Linked DNA regions of Homo sapiens: region 2 is linked to region 1. Evidence: promoter capture Hi-C in human tissues and cell types (Jung and others, 2019). All regions are on one chromosome and are shown on one strand. The core of a region is centred on a gene start or on the middle of the fragment in contact, and the rest is flanking DNA. Distances in the headings are between cores, read along the strand shown. Region 1 holds the start of TUBA3D (tubulin alpha 3d). Region 2 has its middle 19 kb from the start of TUBA3E.

Region 1 (4,425 bases), core at 1,118-3,617:
CATCCTTTCAGCAGGAGGATTCAAAGGAGCCCACACGGGGCTTTACCAATGCTCTCCCACCCTCTCAGGAAAGCTGCCATCCAGTGCCCAGGCACCTACCGACCACAGTGGGCTCCAGGTCCACAAACACTGCTCTGGGCACGTGCTTGCCAGCTCCAGTCTCACTGAAGAACGTGTTGAAGGAGTCGTCCCCGCCACCAATGGTTTTATCACTTGGCATTTGGCCATCGGGCTGAATTCCATGTTCAAGGCAGTACAGTTCCCAGCAGGCATTGCCGATCTGGACACCCGCCTGCCCCACGTGGATAGAGATACACTCGCGCTGTGAACAGGAACATAAAAGTGAACCCATTCATTTCAAGGCAACTTGAAACTATATGGCATGCAAAATATTCTAATTTAATATTTATATACTGCTTCAGTATCTGGCGCTTTCACAATCGATATTTCCTAGGAGGGTTAGTGACTGATCCCTTTATCGCTGTGAAAACTAATTGCTGTAAACCATACTAGCTAGTAAGTTCTAGAGGTAGCCCTAGAACCTGTTTGCCACTACACAAAACTTAGGTTATTTTAAAACTTGGAAGCCATGTAATGTCAATAATCAACCCCACATTATAGCCCGTCACAGTAATTCTCTGAAGAATATGTAGCAGTTTTTGATTATGTCCTGATCAAAGGATAAGGTAGTCGGGTTGGGTAAGGAAATACAGAGTAGGTCCCAGGTCACCATGGTCCAAGCCCAGGTGCTCAGTGTGTGTCCTCTCTCTACCCCCCAGTTCTACCCCGTCCATCATTCACCACCTGCTCTGTGCTCTCGAAGGCTGACCCTTGAGAACAGCATCAGAGGCCTTCCTCGCCCTCTGGCTTCTTGCTGGTTTGGTCAATGGCAGGCAGCAGTGGGATACTGGGGGGCTGGAGAAAGCAGTGCCAGGGTACTCCCTCCTTGGCCCCTTCCTGCTCAACTGCTGTGGGTGACCTGAATCCCTCTCAAGGCCACACTTTTGGCAGGCTGCCCTCTTCATAAAACTACCCTCCCAATTTCTTGTAACCACTCCCTCTCTCTACCCCTTGAAGCCTGTAATGGCTCCCAGACGTCATTAGTGCTGGGACACTGCACTGTCCTTTGGTGGTTTCTTTAAACCCTGCCAAGCTGGGTGTGGTGGCTCATTCCTATAATCCCAGCACTTTAGAAGGCTGAGGTGAGAGGATCACTTGGGACCAGTTTGAGACCAGCCTGGGTAACATAGTGAGTCCCTGTCCCTATGAAAAATCTACAAATTAGCCAGGTGTGGTGGCACACACCTGTAGTACCAGCTACTCGGAAGGCTGAGGTGGGAGGGCTGCTGGAAGCCAGGGGTTCAAGGCTGCAGGGAGCCGTGATCCTGCAACTGTGCTCCAGCCTGGGCAACACAGCATTTGTTGAGTGCTGTCTCAAAAAAAAAAAAGAAAGAAAAAGAAAGGAAAAAAAGGATAACTGACAAACCACAGCTATTCAGACTTGGGACTTGGGAATCTGTTATGTTAATGGGCTGCTTTTTTTGTTTGTGTCTTTGAGGCAGGGTCTCTGTGGCCCAGGCTGGAGTGCACTGGCGCCATCACGACTCACTGCAGCCTCAAAGTTCCAGGCTCGGCTGATCCTCCCACCTCAGCCTCCCGAGTAGCTGGAACCACAGACTCGCATCACCATGCCCGGGTAATTTTTGTATTTTTTTGTAGAGACTGGGTTTCGCCATGTTGGTCGGGCTGATCTTGAACTCCAGACATCAGGTGATCCGCCCGCCTCCACCTCCCCAAGGGCTGGGATTCCAGGCGTGAGCCGCCGCGCCTGGCCTAACGGTTGCCTTTAGGTGAACAAGGCAATGTTGCAGCAGCGTCTGAGCCTTAATTCCTCATCTGATCAATGTCCACAGCCCCAACCCCCGTCACCGAAGGCTCCTGGGGCTCCTCAGTTGTTTCGAGTAGCACAAAGACGTGTGAAGCGGGAGCAGCGCCCTCCCGTCTTCAGGAGGCGACGCCACTATTTGCTCTCTGGGGGACGGGACACCGTCAATGGTCCCGTTCACTAAAGGCCGGCAGCTTCATCTAAAACAAAAGCCGCCGTCCCTGCCCTGGGACCCAAAGATCCAGGAAACGATCCCGTGTCCTCCTGTCCCGCACTAGACCCTGCGTCCTTCTCTGGCCTCCTCTCAGCGCCCAGGCCCGCAACAACGTCCCTCTGTCCACCCGAGGCCAACTTCGTCTGCCTGGGCATCTGCGGGGCGGGAGTGACCCGGGCCTTACCATGGCGAACTCCGCTGCTTCAGCCCAACGCTACTGCCAGACCTCAACCGGCTGCCACAGCTGCTGAGCGCCCAACTGCAACCTCCTGCCTGTGCGCGCCGCACGGGATTGGCCCGCCGGTGCCAGGCCGCCATTGGCTCGGAGTTCCTGGGAGGCGGGCTGAGGGCCGGATCCCAGTTCTGATTGGCCATTGCTCAACATGTGTACTGGGGACGCTCTCTGATTGGATGTAGGATTGGCGGGAAGGCAGCGGGGGTCATCAAAGGCTGCGCGGTTGCTGAGGCATTTCCGGGGTGTCTTCTGACCAGGGTTGGAACAGCTACTGCGCTGCCTCTGTGGGTCGCGGAACATTGCCTTGCTCCCAGTGTGCCACTGCCCCTCCCTGATTGCCCCAGGCCTGCCCCTCTCCCTGCCTAATTCAGATCTTTGCAAACAAGGCCACCTCTGAGAGGCCTTGCCGCCATCTACCCAAGTCACAGCAGCACCGCAATTATCCCCCTCTTCCCTGTTCCCACCCAGCACCTGGGAAGTGGCAGGATTCAATCACTTTTGTGACCCAAAAGGAGAAAACGGGCCGGGCGCGATGGCTAACGCCCGCAATCCCAGCACTTTGGGAGGCCGAGGCGGGTGGATCACCTGAGGTCAAGAGTTCCCAAGACCAGCCTGGCCAATATGGTGAAAACCCGTCTCTACTAAAAATACAAAAATTACCCTGGCTGGTGGTAGGCACCTGTAATCCCAGCTACACGGGAGGCTGAGGTAGGAGAATCGCTTGAAACTGGGAGGCAGTTGTTGCAGTGAGCCGAGATTGGGCCACTGCACACTCCAGCCTGGGCAACAGAGCCATACTCCGTTTCAAAAAAAAAAAAAAAAAAAAAAAAAAGGAAGAAAGGAGGCAAAATTAACGTAAGTGGAGACGTTGGGTCAGGCACACCAGCTCATGCCTGTAATTCCAATGCTTTGGGAGGCCATGGCAGGAGGACTGCTTCAGGTCAGGAGTTCAAGACCAGCCTGGGCAACGTGGTGAGACCCACCTTGCCCGTTTTTACAAAAAATACAAAAAAATAAAATAAAATTAGCAAGGCACGGTGGCGCATGCCTGTAATCCCAGCTACTCAGGAGGCTGAGGCAGGAGAATCCCTTGAACCTGGGAGGCAGAGGTTGCAGTGAGCTGAGATCACGCCACTGCACTCAAGCCTGGGCGACAGAGCGAAACTCCATCTTGAAAAAAAAATAGAGTTTATTTGGGCCAAGTTTGAGAAGTGCAACCCTGGAGATGCAAGTTGTCTTAATATATTGGCAGCAGTTATAAGTGGGTTTTATAAAGGAAAAGAAGAGGCAGTTCCTAAGTTGTTTACCAAGAATTTGAAATTAGAGAAGAAGTCTTGCTGTGTTGTCCAGGCTAGTCTTGAACTCCTGACCTGAAGGGATCCTCCCACCTTGGCTGGCCTAGCCTGAGGAATTTATATGAAAATAACGTAAGCTATTTATTGGGTCAGGCGTGGTGGCTCACACCTGTAATCCCAGCACTTTGGGAGGCCAAGGTGGGAGGATCACTTGAGGTCAGGAGTTCAAGACCAGTCTGGCCAACATGATGAAACCCTTCCTCTACTAAAAATACAAAAATTAGCCAGGCATGGTGGTGAGCACCTATAGTCCCAGCTACTTGGGAGGCTGAGGTAGGATAATCACTTGAACCCGGGAGGCGGAGTTTGCAGTGAGTCAAGATCACACCATTGCACTCCAGCCTGGGCAATAGAGTGAAACTCCATCTCAAAAAAAAAAAAAAAAAAAAAAGAAGAAGAAGACTGGGCGCGGTGGCTCATGCCTGTAATCCCAGCACTTAGGGAGGCCAAGGCAGGCGGATCACGAGGTCAGGAGATCGAGACCATCCTGGCTAACACGGTAAAACCCCGTCTCTACTAAAAATACAAAAAATTAGCCGGGCGTGGCGGCGGGTGCCTGCAGTCCCAGCTACTCTGGATGCCGAGGCAGGAGGATGGCATGAACCCGGGAGGTGGAGCTTGCAGTGAGCCGAGATAGCACCACTGCACTCCAGCCTGGGCAACACAGCGAGACTCTGTCTCAAAAAAAAAAAAAGCTATTTATTGTCTCTACATTGTCTACATTGTCTTTGGTATC
Region 2 (3,816 bases), core at 1,064-3,563, 1.3 Mb after region 1:
CAAGAACACTTGACCCTGTAAGACACTTGAAATTATATGAGTTATGACATCAGTAAAGTATCTTTTCTTATCTACACTTTCTGTTGTAACCACAATGCATATGGATAATTTGTGAAGTGAATAAGGACATGGTGAAGGACTGATTCCAAGTGGCTGGGAGAGGGAAGGGTGTGCTGCATGAATTTCATGTTCTTAGATACTAGTGAGAAGAGGCTGTAACACATTAATCACTCCCCTTCTCTCACTCATACAATGGTAGCACTAGTAGCACATTATCTTTTCTTGTGAAAGTGTTGCATTAAGAAATTTCTTTTGGAGTAGCCCCCAAACTGTAACAGAATGTGACGTGATAATTTCCCACCGTCTTCAAGTACTGCCAAGATGTAGAAGTCTCCTTACTCCTTGTAGACAAATGGTTGCTCCTTGGAGGGGCCTATTTGAATTTTTTTTGTTTTGTTGGTCTTTTTTTTTTTTTTTTGAGACAGGGTCTCACTCTGTTGCCCAGGCTGTAGAGCAGTGATGCAACCACAGCTCACTGATGCCTCGGCCTTCCAGGCTCAGTTCCTCCCACCTCAGCCTCCTGGGTAGCTGGGAATACAGGCATGCACCACAAAGTCTGGCTAATTTTTTGTAGTTTTTCATAGAGATGAGGTTTCCCCATGTTGCCCAGGCTGGTCTCGAACTCCTGGGCTCAAGCTGTCCACCCACTTCAGCCTCCCAAAGTGAGCCACCTTTCATCTCCTCATCTCATCTTATGACTCTGTGCTTGAACTGGTGTATTTAAAGATTAAGGACCTTTCTGACCAATGTCAAATGAACCATCCAGATTGTTCTGGCTCTCAGAAAGATCAGAGGCAGTCTGAATAGCAAGTAAGGATCAAGTCAACCACCAATTCACCAAACAAAGCCAAAACATTGGCGTCAAGGAATAAGCCAATTGCTGACATAAGTACCTGCTGCCCCAGAAGTTACTTGTTTCAACTATTTGAGTTCAGCACATTATCGCAATTCTAAATACTTAAGGTATCTTCAGCAAGTGAATGCAACTTATAACTTGTTCTTCCATCCTCGGGTAAGTGGGGGAACCATTTGCCATTTTCAGAGTAAATTCATCTGAGTTAGAAGGAAGCCCCTATAACATCAACAGAAAGCAAATTCTATAGTTAAGTCTCTCAACCATTAAATTTTAGGATTATATTCTAGTGGTACTTCTTAGAAAAAAGAAAGAAAGTTTCACCTATGAGATAAATTAGAGGACAAAGTGTTACTTCCTGTCTTCTTGCAATCTTGGCCGGGCACCGTGGCTCACGCCTGTAATCCCAGCACTTTGGGAGGCCGAGGCGGGCGGATCACGAGGTCAGGAGATCGACACCATCCTGGCTAACACGGTGAAACCCCGTTTCTACTAAAAATACAAAAAAATTAGCTGGGCACGGTGGCGGGCGCCTGTAGTCCCAGCTACTCCGGAGGTTGAGGCAGGAGAATGGCGTGAACTCAGGAGGCGGAGCTTGCAGTGAGCCGAGATCGCGCCTCTGCACTCCAGCCTGGGCGACAGCGAGACTCCGTCTCAAAAATAATAATAATAAAATATAAAAATAAAAAATTGTCTTGACCATCTTGGGGTGAAACAGCTGGAGATTAAAGGAAGAAATGGCTGCCGAGCACAGTGGCTCACGCCTGTAATCCCAGCACTTTGCGAGGCCGAGGCGGACAGATCCCGAGGTCGGGAGATTGAGACCATCCTGGCCAACATGGTGAAACCCCGTCTCTACTAAAAATACAAAAATTAGCTGGGCATGGTGGCGTGTGCCTGTAATCCCAGCTACTCGGGAGGCTGAGGCAGGAGAATCGCTTGAACTAGGGAGTCAGAGGTTGCCCTGAGCCGAGATCGCACCACTGCACTCCAGCCTGGTGACAGAGCGACACTCCATCTTAAAAAAAAAAAAAAAAAAAAAAAAAAGAGCGGGGGACGGGGGCGGAGGGGGGTGGGGAAGAAATGGCAAGGCTCTGGGAGGAATAAAAAGAAAAAAAAAAAAAAAAAAAAAAAGAAAGAAAATAACCAGAATTATATCTTTGTTAAACGAGGGGCCAAAACCAGAAAGCTTTGTACAAGGTTTTGTGTCTTGGCAGCAAGCATTGCCCTTACAACATAGAATGTCATTGCAATCATATGGTATCAGTAACCAATGAATTACGGCCAGAACACCTAGGACCTGTTCTTCTAGACTTTAGATGTGAGTTCTCCTTCTCACAAATCTCAAATGCATGTTCATTCTGAACACTGGCTGGTTTTTTTGACCCTTTTTGCTGACCTGAGAGGGTTATATAGCTAGAGTAAGACTGAAACTATTGCCTGGAACATCCCTCAGAGTGGCCAAAATATTTCCTTTATGACCATAAAGCAATTCCAATTCACATTGCTTTCTGTAATAGAGCTTTCCTTTCCTTCCTTCCTTCCTTTCTTTCTTCCTTTCTTTCTTTGTTGACAGAGTCTCCCTCTGTCGACTAGGCTTGAGTACAATGGTGCTATCTCGGCTCATTGCAACCTCCGTCTCCTGGGTTCAAATGATTCTCCTGCCTCAGCCTCTGGAGTAACTGGGATTACAGGTGCACGCCACCATGCCTGGCTTGATTTTGGGGTTTTTAGTAGAGATGGGGTTTCACCATGTTGGCAGGCTGGTCTCAAACTCCTGACCTCAGATGATTCACCTGCCTCAGCCACCCAAAGTGCTGAGATTACAGGCATGAGCCAGGCATAAGCCAGTGCCCAGCCTGTAATAGAGCTTTCTGGACTACTGAGTTCTACAGTATTTTCCTGTATGATTATTTTCAATTTCTGTCTCAACACTTGAGGTAGGCTCTTTCAATAAGGCCCAAACACACTACCAATTAATAGCATTATGCTGTGCTTCTGATTTAAACTTTGGTCCCAGAACCCAGAAATGGGAGCCTGTGTCTATTATCTGTCTCATTTTTAGTGGTCTTTGTGGTCTGCATGGTGAAGATGTAAAAGCTTTAACTAAGATGTAGGAATGGAGAAAAGAAAACCAGGAGAGGACTTGCTTACATTCTAAAAGTGGGTTGTAGGGGAAGAGGAAGCAAAGCTGAGACTTCTGAGTAACTGGACTTATGCTAAGATGCCTAACTGAGGTGGGGGATGATTTAGTTTTGGATGGTTACATGGTAAACTAAAGAAAAATAGTATTGAAGTGAGACAAACATCTAAAAGCTTTATAATACCTTAATTTGATTTTTTAAAAATTATACTTTAAGTTCTGGGGTAAATGTGCAGAATGTGCAGGTTTGTTACATAGGTATACATGTGCCATGGTGGTTTGCTGCATCCATCAACCCATCATCTACATTAGGTATTTCTCCTAATGCTATCCCTCCCCTAGCCCCCCACCCCCAACAGGCCCCAGTGTGTGATGTTCCCCTCCCTGTGTCCATGTGTTCTCATTGTTAACCTCCCACTTATGAGTGAGAACATGCAATATTTGGTTTTCTGTTCCTGTGTTAGTTTGCTGAGAATGATGGTTTCCAGCTTCATCCATGTCCTTGTAAAGGACATGAACTCATCCTTTTTAATGGCTGTGTAGTATTCCATGGTGTATATGTGCCACATTTTCTTTATCCAGTCTATCATTGATGAGCATTTGGGTTGGTTCCAAGTCTTTGCTACTGTGAATAGTGCTGCAATGAACAAACATGTGCATGTGTCTTTATAGTAAAATGATTTATAATCCTTTGGAAATGTAAATCCTTATAATCCCAGTAATGGGATTGCTGGGTCAAATGGTATTTCTTGATCTAGAT

The links. Contacts are between HindIII fragments. The study calls those that stand out against the background at their distance.
Region 2: a fragment that was not itself captured here is called in contact with the fragment with the promoter of TUBA3D in region 1 in 1 of the 25 tissues and cell types used here (lymphoblastoid cells).

The regions. Positions count from the first base shown.
Region 1 is chr2:131,474,061-131,478,485 of GRCh38, reverse strand. TUBA3D (tubulin alpha 3d) reads right to left here and starts at 2,367. Exons shown (of 5, transcript NM_080386.4): 1 at 2,284-2,367; 2 at 100-322. The coding sequence starts at 2,286. It also overlaps a transcript of MZT2A not described here. The HindIII fragment of the contact is 16,461 bases long and covers 1-4,425 here.
Region 2 is chr2:130,215,694-130,219,509 of GRCh38, reverse strand. No RefSeq gene overlaps it. Among named protein-coding and RNA genes, the nearest start is that of TUBA3E, 19 kb to the right of the region's middle. The HindIII fragment of the contact is 3,319 bases long and covers 654-3,816 here.